Linked DNA regions of Homo sapiens: regions 1, 2, 3, 5, 6 and 7 are each linked to region 4. Evidence: promoter capture Hi-C in 16 types of primary human blood cells and fetal thymus (Javierre and others, 2016). All regions are on one chromosome and are shown on one strand. Each heading gives the region's core, a stretch centred on a gene start or on the middle of the fragment in contact. The rest is flanking DNA. Distances are from core to core; before and after follow the strand shown.

Region 1 (3,827 bases), core at 550-3,049, 330 kb before region 4:
CGAGCCTCTGGAGGTGGTGGAAAGTGGAGGTGGGTCACTGATCCCAAGAAATAAGCTACAGGACTGAGGCCAGTTTCTGGAGAGGGGATGGTCACTCCTATATTTAAGCCAATAGTGAAGGTTAAGTAGGAGAGTCCAGAGGGACCCTTGAGCCCACTTGCTTGACAATATTGGTGCAGGACAAGTCTAACCCTCCTAACTGGGCAGCTGCCCCCTCCCAATAGTGGTCTCTCTTATGGAGAAAATTTTTACCCGATCAACTTATTCTCGTGAAGCACAAGGGCCTGATATGAACACCCCTTCTGTAGGCATTTTCAAAGAACTTAGTGAGGGTAACAGAAAGAAAAACCTCTATGCATCGAACTTCAGGCACCATCGGAGAAATGTCTTTTCTTAGATTGGCTTTCAAAGTATCTTTAAATCACCCTATTACAAATGGGGTATTAAATAGCCTGCTCTGCCTAGAGAAAAGGTTCCCAAGATTCCTTGTAGCTGCTGGGAAGTTACTGAAATCCTCAGTGACGTGTTTTGAAAAAGTGTTGACAATACAGCGGAAAGTTGCATCTGGCAGCTAACAAATATTTCTTGAGGGTCCACTCGATGCCAGGGATTGTTGCCCTGAAAATGCAAGGCTACCAAAACAAGCAGTTCAGGCCCTCAAGAACCCTGAATGTTCATGAGTACCCACCAAGTGTCACATAGAGCTTATGTCTCAGATGTTTTTCACAGTCCACCCCCCCAGGATGCATTTCCAAATTCTGTGGAGAGCCTAGAACTGTTTCCTCAAAGCCCTTTAGAGCAGTGAGGCACCAATATCTCTCTTTATTACTCCTTTTTCTTTTCTTTCTTTCTTTTTTTGTTTTTGTTTTTTGTTTTGTTTTGTTTTTTTAGAGATGGAGTCTCACTGTATTGCTTAGGCTAGTCTCAAACTCCTGGGCTTAAGCAATCCTCCCATCTCAGCCTCCTGAGCAACTGGGACTACAGGAGAGCACCACCATGCCCAGCTTTATTACTTCTTTTTAAAAAATAAAACTTTTTTTTAAAAGCAGAGAACGTGCTCATTCATTCTGCAGCTGGATCTTGAATAACTTTTCCACTTTGAGAGTTCTGACCCCAAAAACATTGCTGTCACTTTCCAGGTGTTCTATCCTTCCTTGGACCCCATAGCCTGGCTGCCCAGGTCAGACAAGTATGGAACATTTGTTTGTGAGGACAGAGACAGCCACTGGCAACATACCGAGGTATTACAGAGACTTGCTGTGAAGCAAGGCCAACAAAACATCACTTACACAATCAAATAACAAAGAGGGGCATCTTTTTCAAAATTAAAGGTCTATGTGTAAATAAATTCTTTCTGAAAAATAAACAAGATATGAGATAAGGATCCAGGTTTGCTTTGGTATCACTATGGTTACTAGAATGATGTTCAAGACATTTTCACCATGTTCTCCTCCTTTTGAATGCACGCCACAAGTAAAGCATGCCTGAGTTTGGTCTAGAGAGCCTAGGGTGCATTCTCTTTCATGGATGTAGAAGGGATGCAGTTAGCACATTGCTAGTCTTAAAAACAAACAAAAATCCTAGGGAAGATCCTCTCCTTTACTGGCTCAAAAAAGCCCCTGGTAAGAAAAAGTTGTTATACTATTAATGACATGACTGTTTGGTATTGTAAATATCACTCTCAATCAACCAGTATTAGTGAGCACTTCTGAGCACACTCACCATAAGAAGTCATTTACCCGATGGTTATTGAAACTGTTCCATATGAAATTTTGAATTAGTTGCTCAATGTTCTCATTTTTGCCACAGTGTTTTTCTTGACCTAGAGACATACTCAGTTCTATTCCTCATAAGAACAAACTCTTAACTTTGTTCCTGTAACCTAGACTGAGGACTCAGAACTGACCTCGTTTCACTGCTGCATAATACCATATTTCCTGTTTGACAAAGATCCTACCTTGAGCTTGCAAAGACTCCCTGCTTCTTAAAACTGAAACTGGACCCCTTCCTTACACTTTATACAAAAATTAATTCAAGATAGATTAAAGACTTAAATGTAAGACCTAAAACCATAAAAACCCTGGAAGAAAACCTAGGCAATACCATTCAGGACATAGGCATGGGCAAAGACTTCATGACTAAAACACCAAAAGCAACGGCAACAAAAGCCAAAATTGATAAATGAGATCTAATTAAACTAAAGAGCTTCTGCACAGCAAAAGAAACTATCATCACAGTGAACAGGCAACCTACAGAATGGGAGAAAATTTTTGCAACCTACTCACTTGACAAAGGGCTAGTATCTAGAATCTACAAAGAACTGAAACAAATTTACAAGAAAAAAACCCCATCAAAAAGTGTGCAAAGGATATGAACAGACACTTCTCAAAAGAAGACATTTATGCAGCCAACGAACATATGAAAAAAAGCTCATCATCACTGGTCATTAGAGAAATGCAAATCAAAACCACAATGAGATACCATCTCACGCCAGTTAGAATGGTGATCATTAAAGTCAGGACACCACAGATGCTGGAGAGGATATGGAGAAATAGGACTGCTTTTACACTGTTGGTGGGGGTGTAAATTAGTTCAACCATGTGGAAGACAGTGTGGCGATTCCTCAAGGATCTAGAACGAGAAATACCATTTGACCCAGCGATCCCATTACTGGGTATATACCCCAAGGATTATAAATCATTCTACTATAAAGACACATGCACACATGTTTATTGCGGCACTATTCACAATAGCAAAGACATGGAACAAACCCAAATGCCCATCAACGATAGACTGGATAAAGAAAATGTGGCACATATACACCATGGAATACTATGCAACCATAAAAAGGATGAGTTCATGTCCTTTGCAGGGACATGGATAAAGCTGGAAACCATCATTCTCAGCAAACTAACACAAGAACAGAAAACCAAACACCACATGTTCTCACTCATAAGTGGGAGCTGAACAATGAGAATACATGGACACAGGGAGGGGAACATCACACACTGGGGCCTGTCAGGGGTTGGGCGGACCAGGGGAGGGATAGTATTAGGAGAAATACCTAATGTAGGTGATGGGTTGATGGGTGCAGCAAACTACCATGGCACGTGTATACCTATGTAACAAACCTGCACGTTCTGCACATGTACCCCAGAACTTAAAGTATAGTAAAAAAAGACTCCCTGCTTCTTAGTCATTTTCCCTGATAAACATATAAAATGATTGATCATGAATAGAGAGAAAAAGGCACAAATAAGGACAGGAGGCAGTAGAACATAGAGCTCAAGGAACAAGGTCTCTGGCATCTGATTGCTTGACTTTAACTATGTGACCTTGGGGAAGTTACCTAACCTGCTTATGCCTTAGTTTCTTCGTATGCAAAGTAGGGATGGTAATAATAGCACTTACAGAGTTGTGAGGATAAAAGAACTAGTACAAGTCAAGCATTTAAGATAGTGCTTATAGAATAGTAAGCACTCAATAAATGCTAGCTATTTTTCTAGCTGAGTGCAGTTTTAAAAAATTATCCTTAAAAAAAATTCAAAAGACTACTGTAAACTTTAAGTTGATATAAAACTCATAGCAAAACATCATCAAGAAAATGGAAAGCTAAGCCGGGCACGATGGCTCATGCCTGTAATCCCAGCACTTTGAGAGGTCGAAGCAGGAGGATCACTTGAGGTCAGGAGTTCAAGACCAGCCTGGCCAACGTGGTGAAACCCCGTCTCTACTAAAAATACAAAAATTAGCTGGATGTGGTGGCGAGTGCCTGTAATCCCAGCTACTCAGGAGGCTGAGGCAGAGAATCACTTGAACCCAGGAGG
Region 2 (3,412 bases), core at 884-3,383, 490 kb before region 4:
CAAGAAGCTCTGAGATGAAAAGAAAGAGTTCAGGAATCAAAGAACAAGAATAAAATGCTAAAAAACTTAAAACACATGAATGAAACTGGTTGTAAATAATAAAGACAGCCAGTTAAAATCTCTGCCGGAAACTGTGCTGAAAACAATAAATTTGCCTGCTCTATTTAGGAGAGTACATGGATGACAGCAACTTGGAATGAGACAAAGACAGTGAATCAGAAAATGGAAACCACATAGACTATCAACCAGGACTCAGTGTGAAGAGACTCACTGATGCTGCTAACATAAATGTTTCCTCTAACAGGCTTGAAGGAGAAAAACAAGGTTATTTTTAAATTATGTGAAGAAAATAAAATGAAGAGCTTACAGATCTAATAAAAAGTCACCAAACTGAACATGTAGTCTGAAAATTCAGAGCTTAAAGGTGAGATTCAAATGCCTCAGGTGGGCCGGGCTCAGTGGCTCACACCTGTAATCCCAGCACTTCGGGAGGTCAAGGCGGGCGGATCACTTGAGGTCAGGAGTTCAAGACCAGCCTGGCCAACATGGTGAAACTCTGTCTTGACTAAAAATACAAAAATTAGCCAGGTGTGGTGGCGTGTGCCTGTAATCCCAGCTACTCAGAAGGCCGAGGCAAGAGAATCACTTGAACCCAGGAGGTGGAGGTTGCGGTGAGCGGAGATGGCACCATGGCACTCCAGCCTGAGTGACAGAACAAGATTCTGTCACACACACACACACACACACACACACACACACACACACACACACAGAGAATATGTCATGAAACTTGGCAGAAAATCAATTTAGGAGATAGTTTACCTCTTAGAAATAGAGAATAAACTTTTTGAAACATAGGAATACATCACCAATATAAATGGAAAACACAACTCCTACAGGAAGATGAATAAAGACTTGAAGAAAGAATTGCAAGGAACAACTTCTTTTTATCAGCTCTCTTGACTAAGAAGAAAGAAGCTCAAGGAGCTAAGAAAATAGAAAGACTAAAATTGGCTAAAGCAGAGTTTAAATCCAGGTTTCCCAAGTAGCCTCCTAGTAGGCCAATTAATGCCACCCCTTCCCCACAGGTCCAATACCCTATTCTCTGGGTCCTGTGCATATGTTATTCTACATGGCAAGAGGGACTTTTTGTAATTAAGGTTGTGGATCTCAAGGTGCAGAGATTATCCTGGATTAACCAGATGGGGCCAGTCTAATCACTTGAGCCCTTAAAAGCAGAGAAGTTTTTCCAGCTAAAGTCAGACGTGCAGCAGAAGAGGAAATCTAAGAGCTTTCAAGTGTGAGATGGATTTGATGTGCAATCACTGGCTCTGAGATACAGTTGCCCAGATACAAAGCTAAAAAGAGGCCTCTCAAAGCTAATAGAAGTTCCCAGGTGACAGCCAGCAAGGAAATGGATACCTCAGTCCTACAACTACAAGAAACTGGATTGTGCCCACAATTTGAGTGAATCTCCCTATAACCCATGCTGTCAACACAGATTATAGCCTGGTGAAACCTGAAGCAGAGAAACCAGTCAAGCCAACCCAGACTTCTGACCTACAGAGCTATGAGATAATAAACATGTGCTGCTATAATACACTAAACTGTGGTGATTTGTCTAGCAGCAGTAGAACACGCATGTCCCTGCTCTTCAACCGTACTCGGGAATTTAGGGTCACATGCAGTTTGATTCCATTTTCAAAGCAATGAACTTTTGCATATCCACCACCACAGATTTGCCTGTGTTCTCTCTCCTTAAAAGTTGTTTTATCTCTTTTTAGTTGGACTGCTATCATTTAATTGATGCTATATTTCCTCTTATTGAGGTTTGATAAAGTTATAATTTTTAAGATAGTATTTTTAAAATATAATGCTTTAAATACTATTTTTATAAATACATTACTTCTACTTCAGTGGACCCTACAGAATTAGATCACATAAATATTGTATTTTTAGCCAGGCATAGTGGCCCATGCCTATAAACCCAGCACTCTGGGAGGCTGAGGTGGAGGATCACTTGAGTCCAGGAGTTCAAGACTAGCCTGAGCAACATAGCAAAACCCTGTCTCTACAAAAAATTAGCCAGGCATGGTGGTGCATGCCTGTAGTCCCAGCTACTTGGGAGGCTGAGGTGGGTGAATCACCTGAACCTATGAAGCCAAGACTACAGTGAGTCCTGATTGCACAATTACACTCCAGCCTGGGCAACCCGTGAGACCTTGTCTCAAAAAAAAAAAAAAATTTGTATCTTTAGTGAAATAGAAAGTCCATCATTATTTAAATGATCATTGAACTTTGACATGACCAGGTGGAGACGTTTGAAAGAATCAAGACCATTTCTATATTCTATGAGCTGTTATTAGAAATCAATACGATAAATTAATATTTTCTTCAATACATTTTGATTGTTTTTAAAAACAATGCACATATATACATTTTTTAAAATCTTAAACAATAACAACACTGTCAACTAAACTTTGTAATATTTTTAGTAGGCTAGATTTAAATGCATATATTAATTTAGGGGAGTTGACATTTTGCAATCATTTGTTTTTTATTTTGTAATTTATTTTTAACCTTTGTTACTTCATTTAGTGTATTCTTTGCTGTTTAAGTGGTTTTGTTTTATGCAGTGAAATAAAATATTTTCCATATATATCATATATATGGAAAACTATTCTATAATTGTATTACCTAGATTTTAAAAACACTACCTTAGAAATTATAATACTATCAAGCCTCAACAACAACAAATGTAGCATCAATTAAATAACAGGAGTTCAACTTAAAAGAAACATAATGACTTTTAAGTAGAGATAATGCAGGCAAACTTCTGTGGCTGTGGATGTACAGGAGTCTAGATAGATAGATAGATAGATAGATAGATAGATAGATAGATAGATAGATAAATTTCTTGAACTTTTGTTATGTCTAGCAACCTGTGAGATGCTGGAGTTCCAAAGATGAATAGACCTTTTCTCACTGTCTCTGGGAGTAGGGGGAAGTGAAGAAGGAGAGGCTGGGGAAACAGACATGTAAACAAATTATTGCTCTATGATGTAATACCTGTAATTACAGGGATATGCACAGAGCCTCATGGGATTGCTGCAGAAAGATTCTCTCTGGAGGAGTTAAAGCAAGGGAAAAATTCTGAGTCGATTTTTTTTTTACAGATTTAGAAATTCGGGATTATTGCGGATTGTGTACTGTGTTCAGAAAGCAGTATAATAAAGTCTATACCCTTGCCTCTCGAATTTTGCCGAGAAATTTAGCAAGTGCTATGACCTAATTGCCTCTTCTGTGGCCTTTGGAAAGCAGTTTAAACTGGGAATTGGAAGACTGGAATTTTGTACCTAGATCCAACATATGCTAAACAAATGGTTTGGGCCTCAGTTTCCACATTTGTAAA
Region 3 (3,274 bases), core at 331-2,830, 350 kb before region 4:
TGAAAGCAGATGTTCACAGCCATGGTGGAATGTATACTATTTATTTGAGTATGCTCCTAGAGTATCTAGATTCTTCAGAAGGTCCTGTGTGTCTCTTAAAAAATGAAACCATAACAATCGCACTCCCTGCATAATGAATATGGGAGGAGACTTGGTAATCAAGAGAGCTTATGTACCATCTGTCCCATGTCAGCCTGGCCCTCTAACTGGTCACTGTTGTATATATTGAGGTCCCACATAAGATTTCATTATAGAAAATAAGGGATTACTACTAAAACGTTTTTTAAATTCTGCTTTGAGAGTCTTAAAAAGTCATTGGAGATACAGAGAATTCACAAATAAAACAGTTTTCGGTTTCATGAGTGAGTCTACATGTCCGGAGGCACCAGATGGGTAAAACAGCAGTGATCTTCTGCCCTTGGGAGGGCTGTAACCTTATTCCAGATATGACAACCTATGAACTGTCTTTGCCTTTCCTCACTAAAGTGGGGAGGCAAAACCCCAATGGCGAGGCAGCAGGGGAAGAGCACTCAACTTAGAAGAACCGGGTTATAGGCCGGGCGCGGTGGCTCACGCCTGTAATCCCAGCACTTTGGGAGTCTGAAGCGGGCAGATCACTTGAGGTCAGGAGTTCGAAACCAGCCTGGCCAACATGGTGAAACCCCGTCTCTACTAAAAATACAAAAAAATTAGCCGAGTGTGGTGGTGCAGGCCTGTAATCCCAGCTGCTTGGGAGGCTGAGGCACAAAGAATTGCTTGAACCCAGGAGACAGAGGTTGGGGTGAGATGAGATTGCACCACTGCACTCCAACCTGGGCAACAGAGCGAGACTCCATCTCAAAAAAACAGAAGAAGAACTGGGTTCTAGTCCTGCCTTCTGCCTTCGTTACCCTGGGACTCCTGGTGAGACACTGCTATATAAAGGGAACCAGCCACCTGCCCTCCCAACACTGTATATCTGTTGCAAGGCTCAGTCACAGAGGTGCTTTGAAATGCAGACGTTCCACATGAATATAAGTTTTGGGTTTTAAGTTTCTCTTAAAATTCCCTGATTGGTTGAAAAATCACATACCAATCCATGATTGAGTGATACAGTCCTCACATAAATAAAAAGCCTGTTCCTCCCACTGGGAAGCATTTGAGCAGAAAGTAGAATCCCTAAGGGAATGAGTCCTAATTGCAAAGGTGAGGAAGGTGCTGCAACTTGTATGTCTGATCAAGAATATTTTGACTTAGTCGTGATTCTTTTTTTCCCTTAGGTTGATGAGAACATGAAGGTAGCACAGAAAAGAGATGCTGTCTTGCAGGGAATGTTTTATTTCAGGAAAGATATTTGCAAAGGTATTACATTATCTTAGATTTCTAATGTCAGCTTATGCTGCAACAAGCTGCTAAAGCTCCCCTGACCCTCTTCTCCGGCAGGTGGCAATGCAGTGGTGGATGGTTGTGGCAAGGCCCAGAACAGCACGGAGCTCGCTGCAGAGGAGTACACCCTCATGAGCATAGACACCATCATCAATGGGAAGGTAGGAGGGTGGCCCTGTACAGTACCCCTCACTGTGCACATCCCCCGGCAGGGAGTTCATAAAGTGTCCTGCTTCTTGTAGGAAGGTGTGTTTCCTGGACTGATCCCAATTCTGAACTCTTACCTTGAAAACATGGAAGTGGATGTGGACACCAGATGTAGTATTCTGAACTACCTAAAGCTAATTAAGAAGAGAGCATCTGGTATGATATCTATTTTTCTTAATCTCATAATATAGACAGCATGGTATAATCTTAGAATGTTCAATTTCTTAAAGTAGTCTTTTAAAATAATGCTGTATTCATGCACAGTTTCACATTTTTATATTTCTGCAATTGTATTCACCTTATAATCTTTGACACTCATAATTTAGATTAGTAGTGCTTTTTTTCTTATCAGTTCATAAAATAGGGGTGCATCTGAAAATCACTGGCATCTTAGATGATGAAATGGCATCTGGATTGCTTACTTATCATTTACGTCCAACTGTGTTGATCTTACATCATCATGGGCCCTTTTATAGGGCTAAGGAACTCTGTAAGTTAAATAAGCTGAACAGTTCTTTAGCCTGCCTTTGTACATACAGTGAGGCTCCTGAGAATCCCCTTTCTTTGTTAGTTTTGAGGAGGTTACATTTACAATACAGTACAGTAACCAAGTACTGCTAACACAGTACTTGGCACAAGGGAGCTGTCAGCTGTTAATAAAGTGACAGCAATAATGGTAATGGCATCTGTATTTAACTCAAGGCTTCTGTAAACTTTCTGGAGTCACAAAGGATAGCCGTAGAACCCTACCTCACCCCTCAAATGGTATACTGCCAATTTCCCACTTCATTCACTCTACTTACTGTTCTTTATTCTCTCCACCTCTTTGATCAAAGATCGCTCAAGGACCCTACAGTCCTCTGAGGCAGTCTCATGACACTGGCATTTGTAGTCCTAGCCCTCTGGCCAAATGGGAGGGCACATGTTCTTGTACACATGTGCTGGCTCCTGTTCCTTAAGAGCTGGCAGTGTCAGCATATGGGTGGCATCTAACAGGTACCATAGAAACTGGATGTATGTGTTCTCATTGCCTGCCTGCAACCTAGAATTCCTGCCCAGGAGGAGTTCTTCAAACGCTATGAAAGATGTTCCCACCCCCTGCCATGCAGCTACACTAAAAGGACATATTGATTTCTCTCCAGAATTGTGTTTATGCTGACCACTAAATATCAACTTATTAAAAAAAAAACTTACGTGGTTTTAATTTTTTTTTCGCTCCCCCCTCGCCCACAGGAGAACTAATGACAGTTGCCAGATGGATGAGGGAGTTTATCGCAAACCATCCTGACTACAAGCAAGACAGTGTCATAACTGATGAAATGAATTATAGCCTTATTTTGAAGTGTAACCAAATTGCAAATGAATTATGTGAATGCCCAGAGTTACTTGGATCAGCATTTAGGAAAGTAAAATATAGTGGAAGTAAAACTGACTCATCCAACTAGACATTCTACAGAAAGAAAAATGCATTATTGACGAACTGGCTACAGTACCATGCCTCTCAGCCAGCCCGTGTGTATAATATGAAGACCAAATGATAGAACTGTACTGTTTTCTGGGCCAGTGAGCCAGAAATTGATTAAGGCTTTCTTTGGTAGGTAAATCTAGAGTTTATACAGTGTACATGTACATAGTAAAGTATTTTTGATTAACAATGTATTTTAATAACATATCTAAAGTCATCATGAACTGGCTTGTACAT
Region 4 (3,517 bases), core at 336-2,835:
CCAGCTACTCAGGAGGCTGAGGCAGGAGAATCGCCTGAACTCGGGAGGCAGAGGTTGTGGTGAGCCGAGATAGTGCAATTACACTCCAGCCTGGGCAACAAGAGCAAAACTCCGTTTCAAAAAAAAAAAAAGATGAAGCAGGGTCTTAAACTTCAGGCAGGAAAGGAATTTGTTCATGAACTGAAAGACGAATGAGAAATCTATTAGGGGCCGCCGAATGCAACTATGAGGCTTTCCAAGCCTTTTGCCTTCTCGCCTTCTCATCTCTGCCTCCTAAGCCTCATCCTTGAAAGTCTGGACCTTCCTGACAGGTACTGATCCCTCGTCATGTTGTCCAGGATATTGTCACTCCCCGAAACACCCTCTTCCAGTCCTTCACGCCTTGATAAATATCTATTTGTCCTTCAAAAGGCTCATCGAGCATTATTTTGGTGGGTTTCCTTTGGTTCTCCTCCCTCCAGCTTAATAGCCTTCTCATTTATATTACTTTTATTCTATACATCAAATTAAATCGGCCTTATTTAGTAGCTTTAATCATCTTTTCTACTAGAATGAACTTCTTAATGGCTTTCATTCTCTCTTGTGTTGCCAAGGCCTGGCAGACTACCTAGAACAAAACATATGAACTGAACTGATTTAGGCTGTACTGCGGATGTCTCTAAAAGGAAGAATAGCACTGAGGGTATCTCTAGAAGAAATAATTGGTTTTTGTTTGTTCGTTTTTTTTTGTTGTTTTGTTTTGTTTTGTTTTTGTTTTTTTGAGATGGAGCCTCGCTCTGTCACCCAGGCTTGACTGCAGTGACGCAATCTCAGCTCACGCAACCTCCGCTTCCCGGGTTCAAGCAATTCTCTGCCTCAGTCTCCCAAATAGCTGGGATTACAGGCGCTCGCCACCACACCTGGCTAATTTTTGTATTTCTAGTAGAGACGGGGTTTCACCATCTTGGCCAGGCTGGTTTTGAACTCCCAACCTTGTGATCCGCCCACATCGGCCTCCCAAAGTGCTAGGATTACAGGTGTGAGCCACCACGCCCGGCCAAGAATTGTATATTTTTAGGGGATCAGAACACTTAGAATTAGTGGGACATTATTGCTAGGGTTAAGATAGCATTTCAGTATTTCTGGTATAGAGGATGTTGGCTATCCACTGTCTATTCCAGTAAATTTCCTCACCATAATATCTCTCTATCTCTGTCTGTCTGTCTTCTCTCTCTTGCACACATGAGAGAGAACTATTACCTGCCGGGTAAATAGTGGGAGAATTAGGACCTACTGTGAATCGTCTGCCTGGGGCCCAACCTGTAACATCACAAGAAGAAAAACATCTGTACTTCCTTATGAGGTTCTTTTCAATGTCCATTTTAGTTCAAATGTCCTCATAACATAAAGGGAGGGGGAAGTTCAGAGACACATCATAGAATATTCATCACATTGCTGGCATTCTGGGAAGAATCAGGCTGGTTAAGTGACTCCCAGGCTGCTCTTACCTATCCAGAGCCTAGAGCATCTAGATTTTGATTGGACCATTGCCAGAACTCATTAGCATAGTGTACCCTGACCTGGAATAGGGAACAGCGTCTGCTCAGAAAATGACCAGAGCCTGCTGGGACTTGAACCAGCAGTAAGATTTTCACGACACAGTGCTGTCTGCTTCTCCGTAAGAAGTTAGAAGGTAAGAAAGCCAGAAATCCCGTGGAGAGGCAAATGTAAGGGATGTGGCAACGACCACTCTATTCCTACAGGGTTTCATTTGTTCTAGTTCATTTTTCTGTAGAAATGATGAAAATTGAATATACTTTGCGCAAGTTGCTTTAAAAAAAGGAGTCTTGACAAGTGTAGTTTTTCAATCCTAGAAGAGGAAAACAGAGTTTACTTAAGGGCTGTAAAATGGTTTTTTCTTCTTTTCTATGTTTTGTTCTTAACTTTTAGGGAAATATTAAATTAATGCTCATTCGCTTAGCAAATGTTAATATCGAGAGAAAAATCTAAAATGTAACATAGTTGTTCTGTAATAAAATTTTCTTTATTATTCTTCCCTTAATTTAAAAACAAAATAATTATGTCTATATTGCCTAGGCTTTATAACAATGTTTTTGATTTTTGAAAATATGAATCTTATTTGCCAAGGTTTTTAAAAAGTAGATCTATTCCAATTAGTTATAACAAAATTTGCACCATCAGAGACAATATCGTTACTGTTCAGGGTAAGTACACGGAACTGCTGCTTGGTATCTGCATCTTCTATACCTGTTATTTAAGTCCTTTGAATTAGAGTCAATTTGCGGCATCATTTCTTCAGTAACACAATGTTTCTTTCCTAAACATAGAATTTTACTTAAAATCCATGAGGATTTAGTCTTGAAAATCAACATTCAGTTGGGGAACAGAAACTTCGTGCTCTGCAACCACTAGGTTGTAGCTCAGTATGGGTATGTGGAACAGACAGGAAGAGACTCTGATTAGCTTGTCATTTAATGGTCAAGAACTTTATTTATAAAGACTATACTTTCAGGGATCATTTCTATAGTTTGTTACTAGAGAAATTTCTCTGGACATCTAGAGCACACACAAAAAAGAAAAAAGGAACTTCATTCTTATGTTCAGGTCAACGGTCTTTTATATACATACACTTTCCCTTGGTAGAGTTCAGTGATTGACAAGTATTAGGATTATATAACACTAAATAACTAAAGAACAGGCCGGGCACAGTGGCTCATGCCTGTAATCCCAGCACTTTGGGAGACAGAGACGTATGGATCACCTGAGGAAAGGAGTTCAAGACCGGCCTGGTCAACATGGTGAAACCCCATCTCTACTGAAAATACAAAAATTAGCTGGGTGTGGTGGTGCGTGCCTGTAATCCCAGCTACTTGGGAGGCTGAGGTAAAAGAATCACTGGAGCCCCAGAGGTGGAGGCTATGGTGAGCTGAGATTGCGCCACTGCACTCCAGCCTGGGTGATAAGAGTAAGACTCCATTAAAAAAAAAAAAAAAAAAAAAACAATAAAAACTAAAGAAAAGAGTTCATGGGTCTCGCCAAAGCTTAGACTATTAATCTACCTTATAGTTTGAGTTCGCTATTAAATAGCTCTACATAACATCATTATGTCTCTTGTTTTTATAAGAGTACCAATAAATGAAATGTTATACATGTGAACATGTTTCACTTCATATCGTACTAACAAGTAGCTTTCATCTGCAAAATTATTCATTTTTTTCCTCAGGGTAGAACACTTCAAATTTTCTTTCTTTTTTTCTTGGTAAACCTCCTTTAACCAATTATAGTTAGAAATTAGAGCACTATTTCTCGTGAGGGAAGAAATGCCATTTGAACAAACTTTTATTTATTCATTCATTTATTTATTTATTCATTCATTCATTTATTTATTTTTTGAGACAAGGTCTCACTCTGTCACCCAGGCTGGCATGCAGTGACACAATCTTGGCTCACTGCAGCCTCAACCTCCTGGGCTCGGGTAATCCTCCACCTCAGCCTCCCAAAGTAGCTGGGACTACAG
Region 5 (3,407 bases), core at 109-2,608, 310 kb before region 4:
TATTGGTGTTTTGTCTCTTCTGGAACTGTAAGCTTTCTGGAGACACTGACAGGTCTGATTCACTTTATTGTGCACCACAGTAATTAGATAAAGAGACGAAGCAACATCTCATTGTGTCTTAAATACTTCAGGCCTGGCGTGGTGGCTCGCGCCTATAATTCTAGCACTTTGGGAGGCCAAAGTGGGAGGACCATTTGAGGTTGGGAGTTCAATAACAGCCTGCCAACATGGTGAAACCCTATCTCTACTAAAAATACAAAAATTAGCCGGGCGTGGTGGTGCGTGCCTATAGTTCCAGCTACTCAGGAGGCTGAGGCAGGAGAATCGCTTGAACCCAGGAGGCAGAGGATGCAGTGAGCTGAGATCACACCACTGCACTCCAGCCTGGGCAACAGAGTGAGAGTTGGTCTCAAAAAACGAAAACAAAAACAAAAAAAAACAAAAAACAACAAATGCTTCTGCTGATATCCCTCTGCTATCCATGATGAAGTCTCGTAGCTCTCACCATGCTGCTTCTATGCTCATTGTCTCCATTCTCTAGCCTTCGTGAAGAAGTGTGGCTCTTCTCTGAGATTAGACCCTTTACCTGAGCGCCTGCCTTAGGCCTTTTCCCACCAACCAGTCTTTTCAAGGACTCTTCCTTTCAAGACCCCTCCCCTCTGTAATCCCAGACCCTGAAACCCCTTTGCTTCACCCTACTCCTTTCTCTTTCTCCCTTTTTATTTTTTTATTTTTATTTTTATTGTTTTTGAGACAGAGTCTCACTCTGTCACCCAGGCTGGAGTGCAATGGCGCGATCTCGGCTCACTGCAACCTTTGCCTCCTGGGTTCAAGCGATCCTCCCACCTCAGCCTCCAGAATAGCTGGGACTATAGGCATGTGCCACCACACTTGGCTAATTTTTTTGTGTGTGTTTTTAGTAGAGATGGGGTTTCACTATGTTGGCCAGGCTGGTCTCGAACTCCTGACCTCGTGATCTGCCTGCCTTGGCCTCCCAAAGTGCTGGGATTACAGGTGTGAGCCACTATGTCTGGCCTACTTTCTCTCTCTTTTATGCCATTTTCTTATTTCCTTTTACTGCTTTTTGAAAGAATGTACTATATACTTATTTAGTCATTTAACTAATGGCAGAGTCGGTTACATGGGCATGTGGCCAGGTGCAGGGCTCTGTGATCAGAAGGAGGCCCAGGTTTGGGATTTAATAATCTGCTGTTGCTGTCTTAGAGTTCCTAATAATTTCGTTTTTGTTTATTTCTTTGTTTGTTTGTTTTACCAGAGACAAGTTCTGGCTATGCTGCCCAGGCTGGTCTCAAACTCCTGAGCTCAAGTGATCTGCTGGCCTCAGCCTCCCAAAGTTCTGGGATTACAGGCATAAGCCACCGACCTGGACAATAATTTCACTTTGAAATGACTTGGGAGTCATGATGCAGGGAGAGCTGAAGTCATGAGAATGCAGGTCTGTGAGGAGAAATCTAGAGACAAACAGGAGAACCAAGCAATCAATCTGGGAACTTTTTCAATCAATGGAGGAGATAGGAACCAGCAAAGAAGCTCTGAGCTGGCCTTCGAGTAAAGAAGGACAGTTGAAGTGTTAAAGATTAGTGGAAACAAAGATTCCAAAAAGCAGGGATGGGGACCGTGTTAAATGCTGTGGAAGCTCCAGAAAGATGCTGGGAAGAGAGGTTTGGATACAGATGGGAGGTTCTTGATGAGACTGTTTGCATTTACGCCTGTTGTCCCAGGATAATTATTAGTAGCATCTTTTTTTCACCCTCAGAAGCATCCCCATTTGGCCACCCTAGATATTGGTAAACTTTGAAAGACAGTGTCAGTTGAGCGGTTGGAAGTAAAAGCCAGACTTCCCCGAGTTAAGGAGAAAGATGAAAAAGTGGAGGCAGGGCCCTGTCCTTCTTCACAGCTCAGGGGTCCCCAATGGAATCGTTTGAGAGTGAATAGAACAGAGGAATAGGACAATGACTAGCTTTATGAAGAGGCGTCTGCTCTTCCATTTACTTGTTTTTGTTTCAATGAAGGTAAAGATAAAAATAGAGAGGTTATCTGCCCTTATACTAAGAAGAATAAGCGCAGTATGTTCTCCTGCTACGTGCTGTGTTCTTTGTTGGAATGAATGTGTGAAGTTCCAACATGAAGTCTGCAGGAGCTTTGGCTGCTCTTCTCCAGCTGCAAGACAGTTCGGAGAGCAGGCGGCAGGCAGCAGCCCCACCCTAGTGAGAGTTTAAAGCACTTTCCCCTTTCTATTGTTTGACAGGGAGGGGTGGAGTTCAGAGCAATCAAAAGGACGCTGCAATGGTTTTGCATTGTAATTTTATTACTTAATATATTATAAAATTTAGTTAATTCTAATTAGTTTGTGTGTGTGTGTGTGTGTGTGTTCATCTCCTTATTTTCTGGAGTGTGAAATGGTAAGAGCATTTTTAAAGCCAGGGCTTATTTACTAAAATGAACCCTTTTTTCCTTTCTCTGAGATGCATGAAACCAACAGAGAAAATGTATTTGAAGAGGGGGTTTTTAGGGTTGAGTAAATTAGAAGAGGATGTCATTTTAAGGAAGAGAAAACATGTTAGTGAGAGGAAGCTGCTTCATTTGTTTAAAATGTACACACAGATGGGAAAGTTATACAAATGATTATTCAAATAAAAGATAAAAAGGACATTAGAAGCTTGATATATCACTTATGCGAATCCAGTGCTTTTCTGTAGAAAAATTACCTCCCTGATCCTTTTCTTCTGTGGGATCTAGTGGTCTGGCTCATAAGATGTGAGGGAGAAGCAAGTGTAGGACAGGCTTTGGAACCACCTGCTTTCAGCCATAAGGGGCTTCCTTAAGGGGCACAGCAACTACATGTCTCTAATGAGTGACAATCCCATGGTGGAAGAAGTGAATACTAGTAATGAAAGTTGTGGCAGTTCTCTCAGGAGAGTGTCAAAAAATTGCATTCACTTTCATAGTCTACCCCCCCAGCATACTTCAAATGAATATAGTGTATTTCCCCATCTTTGCCTTTTGCAACATATTTCCCAATTAGGGTTACCAAATTTAGCAAAGAAAAATGCAGGGTATCCAGTTAGAGTTTTAGAAAAACAAGAGAAAGGTTTTTTTTTTCATTTTTCAACTTTTAATTTTTGTGGGTTCATAGTAGGTGTATATATTTATGGAATGTATAAGATATTTTGATATAGGCATACAATGCATAATAATCATATCAGGGCAAGTAGAGTATCCATCACCCTATGCATTTATCCTTTCTTTGTGTTACAAACAATCTAATAATATTCTTCTAGTGATTTTTAAATGTGCAATAAATTATTGTTGACTGTAGTCATCCTATATGTCTGTTTATATGCCTGTACCATGCTGCTTTGGTTACTATATCTCTGTAGTGTAAT
Region 6 (3,595 bases), core at 67-2,566, 510 kb before region 4:
GGGTTCATAATCTATTTTCACAAGGTAAGGATGCATTTTGCATTGTTTGCAAAAAAAGAATGAGAAGAAGGATGTATGTGCTACAGCCTTGTAAAAAATATAAATGTGAATATGATAATTGGAGCTTAAAGAGGAAAACAAAAGCACTGGAAAAGAATTAGACCATCTCTATTTTCTGCCTACCTGCTACTCTTCTTCTGCATGGATAGGAACAGGAGCAAATACAATAGAAGGGCTACAAAATTACTTTAACACATACACCACCCATCAAATTGAAAACCCTTCAAGGAGAGCCAAAGCTGAGTTTTACCCCTCAGGATGAAATTACAATGGGATTTAAAACACACACACACACACACACACACACACACACACACACACACACAAAACAAAAACAAAAAATTGTAAACCACCTAAATACATAAATGCTTATCAACAGGATAATAGTTGAACAATGTATGATATACCCTTACTATGCATTACTATGCACCGATTATAAGGAATGAGGTGGATTTATACATGTACTGCTATAGAAAGGTGTACATGAATTACTACTAGTGAAAAGAGAAAATTGTTGAATAATTAGCATAAACCTGTTTGATATAAGTTTTCTATAGTGTTATGTTGGAGCTGGCTTGCACTGGCTCACAAGAGCTGATTGATGAATTTTCAGAAATTTGGTAAACTAATTGTTAAGCAGTTGATAGCTTGAAATCAGTCATGATGAGAGTATTTGCACCAAAGAAATCATCAGATTAGGCTGGGCAAGGTGGCTCATGCCTGTAATCCTAGCACTTTGGGAGGCCAAGACAGGTGGATTGCTTGAGCCCAGGAGTTTGAGACCAGCCTGGGCAACATGGTGAAACCCATTCTTTTCAAAAAATACAAAAAAGGTAGACAGGCATAGATAGTGTCATGCACCTGTAGCCCCAGCTATTCAGGAGGCTGAGGTGGGAGGACTGCTTGAGTCCTGGAAGTCAAGGCTGCAGTGAACCAAAATCACACCACTACACTCTAGCCTGGGTGATAGAATGAGACCCGATCTCAAAAAAAAAAAAAAAAAAAGTTAAAAATACTTGTTTTCCCAGTCTGTTGCTTGCCTTTTAAGGAGTCAGTTTTGTTTCATGGCTTTTATTTTTCTATATTCTGATATTTCAGTCTTTTCTTTTATAGCTTCTGGATTTTGTGTCAGCTGAGAAGGGCCTTCCCTAACCTAAGTTATAAAAACAAAAACAAAAACAAGATCCCTAGCTTGTTCTGGTCTTATATAAGTTTGTGTATGTGTGTATGTTACTTAGATATTTAATTCATCTGGAAGTTATTTTAGTGAATATATAGAGTAGCAAATCAGTTGACCTAATGCTGCCATTACAAGTTCTTTCTCATTGATTTTTAAGTGCCACATTTATCTTAATATATATACTTACACACACATACACTATATAAATATATAAATATGCACACACATATATACTGTATATATCTACACACACATACACACATATACATATATGGGTTTCTACCCTTTATTTTGTTCTTCTGAATTTATAGGTTTCTACCTCTTATCTTATTCCACTGAATTTCTTTTTATTCCTGATCCAAAATTTTTAGTTCCTCTAATTTTTTGCATCTGGTAAGAATTCCTTTATTTTTAAACAAAATTCCTAGATGTTCTTTTATACTCACTCCCTCAGTTAAACTCTGAAATCATTTTATTAAGTTCCAAAAAGAAAAAATATCTTATAGAGGTAGCAACTAAAATTTCACTGAAATGACATCCATCTCTTCATACAGGAATGTAGAGTCCCTGTCTGTTAAATCCTCTGGCAAAATCCTATAGTACTTATATGTGTCTCACTAAATTAGAGTCAAGTATATATATCTCTTAAAATATAACAGGTTTCATTGCTACTGCAAATAAAATAATCTTTCCATAATATTTTCTACATTTCACATGTATTCCTGAATTTTAGTATTTTACTGAGGAAAATCTTCAGAGTGTTTATAATTCACTTTTTCATGACAGTAAACTAAGCCCTTTAAATGATATTTAACTACTATTCTACTATATAGCTCAATCAGAAAATGTTGGTTGGGTATAGTGGCTCACATCTGTAATCCCAACACTTTGGGAGGCTGAGGTGGGCAGATCACTTGAGGCCAGGAGTTCGAGACCAGTCTGGCCAACATGGTAAAAACCCATCTCTACCAAAAATACAAAAATTACCTGGGCATGGTGGTGCACACCTGTAGTCCCAGCTACTTGGGAGGCTGAGGCAGAAGAATAGCTTGAACCCGGGAGGCAGAGGTTGCAGTGAGCTGAGATCATGCCACTGCACTCCAGCCTGAGCGACAGATAGAGGCTCTGTCTCAAAAAAAAAAAAAAAGAAAAAAAGAAAAAAGAAAGAAAGAAAATGTGGTCACTTTTTCTATATAATTACTTGGCAATACAGTTATGGAGAGATTTCATTTGATAACATAAATCTTCCTAGAATTGTCTTCAATGCTTCATGCTGAAGTAAACTGTCTGTAAAATGTACATCTAGTTTAATATGTCTTTAAATCTATTTTAAAAATTAATCTATTTTATGCCATGAAAACTATTATCTTTTGAAAAAGTTTCTCAATGTAGTATTTCAAAGTCTAAAGCACAATTAAAACAAAACCATGTTTTTTTTTTTCTCTTTTTAGCAAGCTCTTGCCTGTAACAGTGTATTTGCCAACATGGCACCCAAAAAGAAGATTGTCAAAAAGAACAAAGGAGATATCAATGAGATGACTATAATCGTAGAAGATAGCCCCCTAAACAAACTGAATGCTTTGAATGGGCTCCTAGAGGGAGGCAATGGCCTTAGCTGCATTTCTTCTGAACTAACAGATGCTTCTTATGGCCCCAACCTCTTGGAAGGTTTAAGTAAAATGCGGCAGGAGAACTTCCTATGTGACTTAGTCATTGGTACCAAAACCAAATCCTTTGATGTTCATAAGTCAGTCATGGCTTCATGCAGTGAGTATTTTTACAACATCCTAAAAAAAGACCCGTCAATTCAGAGGGTGGATCTCAATGATATCTCACCACTAGGCCTGGCCACTGTCATTGCATATGCCTACACTGGAAAGCTCACTCTCTCCTTGTATACAATAGGAAGCATTATTTCTGCTGCTGTTTATCTTCAGATCCATACTCTTGTAAAGATGTGCAGTGATTTTCTGATACGGGAGATGAGTGTTGAGAATTGCATGTATGTTGTTAATATTGCTGAAACATACTCCCTAAAAAATGCAAAAGCAGCAGCCCAGAAATTTATTCGGGATAACTTCCTTGAATTTGCAGAATCGGATCAGTTTATGAAACTTACATTTGAACAAATTAATGAACTTCTTATAGATGATGACTTACAGTTGCCTTCTGAGATAGTAGCATTCCAGATTGCAATGAAATGGTTAGAATTTGACCAAAAGAGAGTAAAATACGCTGCAGATCTTTTGAGCAATATTCGCTTTGGTACCATCTCTGCACAAGACCTGGTCAATTATGTTCAATCCGTACCAAGAATGATGCAAGATGCTGATTGTCACAGACTTCTCGTAGATG
Region 7 (3,338 bases), core at 517-3,016, 370 kb before region 4:
TCCTTGGAATCAGTGTTGTGATACAGAAAGGCATCTGTTTTATTATTTTCTTTTGTATGTTGTTCCTCTTATCCTTTGGATTCAAAAATGAAGTTTAGAATGGGGATACAATCCAGAAATCATAAAATAATTTATTGGGGCTTTAGATGTTTTATATTGGAAAATCGTTGTCTTAATGTATCACTTTTTATTATCACCAATCATCTCGGTTATTGCGTCAAACCCCATTTCAGCTCTAGTTTGACTTTTAAATATGCAGTTACGATTCAGAATGCTCATATAGACAGGCTCTAATCGGAAATAAACATAAATGTGTTGAGGTGGTGGGGGTGTTTAACAAAAAGCTAAAAGTTTGAAGAACCTCTTTGAGGACTAGTGCAGAAAGTTCAAGGTGACTGCAGAGAAGGAGCACTTCAGAAGGCATTACATTTTAGTTTGAAAAACCGTCAGGAAATTCTTGAGGCTTCCAACTGATGATTATTCTATTGAAAAGTAAATTTGGTTTTCTTTCTCATTTGGTAAATATTCTGATGTTTTTCTGTTTCATTTGCTTAATGAGATCATGAAGTGATTATACTTTAATTGAGGAGAGTTTGGTTTGTTAACATTTTAAATGTCATCCGTTTGGCATTTAAAACTGATATTTAAAACTCAGAATGAGCTTTAACTTTTTGTTCTTTTGCCCTACCCATGTTTTAAACTTGTGGGCTAAGAGTGAATTTGAAAACTAAGGATTTCAATTTTTTTCAAAGTTAGGAAACTAACAATTAAAGTTATTGCAACTTAGTTTATATAATTGCTACAAGTTCTTGCTCATTTGGTAAAAAATAAATGATGCACTCAGTAAGCAAGGAAGTATCTCTTAGACTTTCTTTAGGAAGCATGTTTTCTAGTTAAGCAAATAACTTAATTCCAGTAGCAGATGCCAGGCAGATGAGTTGGAGTCTAAGTGAGTGAAGGAGGAAGTACTGAAGAAGGAACATTTCCTCCTAGCTGGGAGAGTTAGGAATGCTACACAGAGTAAGTGGGTTCCGTCCTGGGCCTGAGGGATGGGCCAGTTCATCTGTTAAAATCTATGACTGTAACTATTGTTACAGCCCAGCTTCCATGATATAATGTTAGGACCCCTTCCATGAAATGAAAGCATAATCAATTTGAGATAGTTTCATCCAGTATTATAACTTTTCCCTGCTTCATATAGGTTATAACAATTTTATAAAAAGCTTATCTTCACTTACCAAGATTGGCACCCTCTACAGCCCTAGCAGCAAGGTGTGCTGGGCCTTGAGGCCAGACGGGGCTGGCTTCAAATCTCTGCCTGACACTTGTGGCCTTGAGTAGCTTACCTCTCTGAGCCCCTTTGCCCACCTGTGAAATGGGTAATCAAGCCTGCTTTTGCATGCTGGGTTTGAAGATTAGGATTCATATATGAAAGCATATCCTTTCTCATTATGCTTATTTAAAGATTAACTTGTATCTTTTCACATACCCATTCTGAGACTCAACCAAGTTTTCTGTTTCCAGGTTTTAGCTGTTCCGGAGTCACAGATCTATAGATGGTATCTTGCAACCTGTAATTGTTGTTGCGAACAGTTCCAGATTCTGCAGCCTAGTTTTTAGTCAGCTGACACTGAGTGATTCTGCAGGTGGAGATCTCATGTTTCTGGTTCGTGTACCCAAATCAAGCAGACTTTTCCATTTCTTGAGCTAAAAGATTCTGATGAGAGCTAATAAACGTTAACTGAAAGTTTATTTTGTTGTTGTTTAAATCTGCTAGGCTATCTCCTACAGTTACTAACATTTTTTTCCTCTTTATAATCATATTACTTAGCCCTTAATGTTTCTGTGATGAGGACGGCTGACTCAAATGCCTTCCAAGACCAGGGAAATACACATAAATAAGGGAATAAACTGCAGACAGTGTGCACCCCTGAAAAGCAAACAGCCCAGTCACACAGTCACAGGCTTCGTGCTGGGCTTCTGGGTATTGTTTTAAGACTGAGAACCTAGATTTACATGTGAAATATCTGGGAAATAGTGGATATACGGTTGCCTGCCTTTTTATTTTTTCTAAACTACTATTGTAGGCCAAACCAAATACACTGTAGCCTGGTTTGCCTTGTGAGGAATCAGTTTCCTACCTCTGTAGTAATTGTATTGGTGCCATGTGCAAAGGGTACTTTCAAGGGCTTGCCTGAATAATTCTGTATCTTTTCACTTATATATGGATAATGGATGTTTTGTTTCCATCACACACAGTGATTCATAATCTTCACTGCTCACGCCAACTGTCATGATTGAAAGCTTGTAACTTCAGGAAAAACAAAAGTAGGTTCTAGTTGTATTCTGCCCAGAAGTCTGACTTTGTGTTTATGTCCTTTATTTTTACTAGAATTCCACGAGGTATTGTTAATAAATGTACTAGTGCACCCTGCATTGCAAATTTTATATGGTTTCAGAGTGGAGAAGTTGCCTTAAATTACTTGAGATAAACCAAAATTAAATTGTTGAAACCCCTCAAATAACTTCTCCACACGGTATATTTATGATTATGATTTAACTCTCCAAAAGTGGGACTGGTAGTGGGATTATGAAAGTGTAATCTACCTTACTTATTACTCTGCCAGTAAGTAAGTGTAATCTACCTTGACTGGAATGTCCAGATAACCTCTTTCTTAAACTTATAGTAAGCCAACTGAGGAAATAAATTTTAAAATGCAGCTTCTTTTTTACAACAGCAATTTACAGAATCTTTGCTTCAAAACACATCTTTTTTTTGAAGTACAGCTTGTCAAAATGGGTATCGACCTTTCCATAGGATATTAAGTAGGACAGAGGAAAGAAGGGATGGAAGTGGCACTACTGACTGATCCTTTCTACAGGTTTCCATATTATGCATATGAACACTTATGTGCTGTACTGTAAACAAATGTGACTGTCTGGAGTTACTGTGGATCCTTTACAGACTTCACGTTTCCCTGCCTTTTTCTTCTGGAGGCCACACTGAAAACAAGTCTGGAAGAATGTTAATTTTTCTCACCTTTATTTTCAATAGGTGGAATACATGTTGGTATCTTTTGATCATGAAAATAAAAAAGTCCGGTTGGTCCTGTCTGGGGAGAAAGTTCTTGAAACTCTGCAAGAGAAGGGGGAAAGGACAAACCCAAAGTAAGCTCTCATGTGCTGATTTAGTGTTTCTGAAACTGCTAAAACTTCTAGAATATAGAGTTTTTTCTCAATTATTGGAGGCAGGATAGCCTAACAGTTAAGAGTACAGGCTCTGGTTTCAGGTTGCCATAGTTTCAAATCATGGTTCCTTTACTCAATAGCTGAATAAC

What was found. Contacts are between HindIII fragments. The CHiCAGO score rates a contact against its expected background, and 5 or more counts as called.
Region 1: a fragment that was not itself captured here is called in contact with the fragment with the promoter of GCM1 in region 4 in 17 of 17 cell types (total CD4 T cells, monocytes, neutrophils and 14 more); the score reaches 22.4 in total CD4 T cells.
Region 2: a contact is called between a fragment that was not itself captured here and the fragment with the promoter of GCM1 in region 4, in 1 of 17 cell types (neutrophils). The highest score is 5.7, in neutrophils.
Region 3: a contact is called between a fragment that was not itself captured here and the fragment with the promoter of GCM1 in region 4, in 8 of 17 cell types (naive B cells, total B cells, neutrophils and 5 more). The highest score is 10.1, in naive B cells.
Region 5: a fragment that was not itself captured here is called in contact with the fragment with the promoter of GCM1 in region 4 in 12 of 17 cell types (non-activated CD4 T cells, naive CD8 T cells, activated CD4 T cells and 9 more); the score reaches 12.0 in non-activated CD4 T cells.
Region 6: a fragment that was not itself captured here is called in contact with the fragment with the promoter of GCM1 in region 4 in 2 of 17 cell types (monocytes and naive B cells); the score reaches 5.3 in monocytes.
Region 7: a fragment that was not itself captured here is called in contact with the fragment with the promoter of GCM1 in region 4 in 5 of 17 cell types (naive B cells, total B cells, M1 macrophages and 2 more); the score reaches 7.6 in naive B cells.

The regions. Positions count from the first base shown.
Region 1 is chr6:53,479,596-53,483,422 of GRCh38, reverse strand. The region is part of intron 3 of GCLC-AS1 (GCLC antisense RNA 1); the gene reads right to left. Among named protein-coding and RNA genes, the nearest start is that of GCLC-AS1, 50 kb to the right of the region's middle. The HindIII fragment of the contact is 4,576 bases long and covers 1-3,827 here.
Region 2 is chr6:53,639,332-53,642,743 of GRCh38, reverse strand. No RefSeq gene overlaps it. Among named protein-coding and RNA genes, the nearest start is that of LINC01564, 13 kb to the right of the region's middle. The HindIII fragment of the contact is 4,667 bases long and covers 1-3,412 here.
Region 3 is chr6:53,498,499-53,501,772 of GRCh38, reverse strand. GCLC (glutamate-cysteine ligase catalytic subunit) reads left to right here. Exons shown (of 16, transcript NM_001498.4): 13 at 1,260-1,341; 14 at 1,423-1,526; 15 at 1,608-1,728; 16 at 2,806-3,274. The coding sequence ends at 3,017. All of the region lies in intron 3 of GCLC-AS1 (GCLC antisense RNA 1), which reads right to left. Among named protein-coding and RNA genes, the nearest start is that of GCLC, 45 kb to the left of the region's middle. The HindIII fragment of the contact is 4,037 bases long and covers 1-3,274 here.
Region 4 is chr6:53,146,909-53,150,425 of GRCh38, reverse strand. It overlaps GCM1 (glial cells missing transcription factor 1), which reads left to right and starts at 1,585. Exons shown (of 6, transcript NM_003643.4): 1 at 1,585-1,672. It also overlaps the pseudogene LOC124901513. The HindIII fragment of the contact is 12,096 bases long and covers 1-3,043 here.
Region 5 is chr6:53,460,709-53,464,115 of GRCh38, reverse strand. The region is part of intron 2 of GCLC-AS1 (GCLC antisense RNA 1); the gene reads right to left. Among named protein-coding and RNA genes, the nearest start is that of GCLC-AS1, 31 kb to the right of the region's middle. The HindIII fragment of the contact is 2,648 bases long and covers 35-2,682 here.
Region 6 is chr6:53,654,402-53,657,996 of GRCh38, reverse strand. It overlaps KLHL31 (kelch like family member 31), which reads left to right. Exons shown (of 3, transcript NM_001003760.5): 2 at 2,692-3,595. The coding sequence starts at 2,725. Among named protein-coding and RNA genes, the nearest start is that of KLHL31, 9.6 kb to the left of the region's middle. The HindIII fragment of the contact is 4,902 bases long and covers 1-3,595 here.
Region 7 is chr6:53,522,245-53,525,582 of GRCh38, reverse strand. It overlaps GCLC (glutamate-cysteine ligase catalytic subunit), which reads left to right. Exons shown (of 16, transcript NM_001498.4): 2 at 3,056-3,168. Among named protein-coding and RNA genes, the nearest start is that of GCLC, 21 kb to the left of the region's middle. The HindIII fragment of the contact is 1,081 bases long and covers 1,226-2,306 here.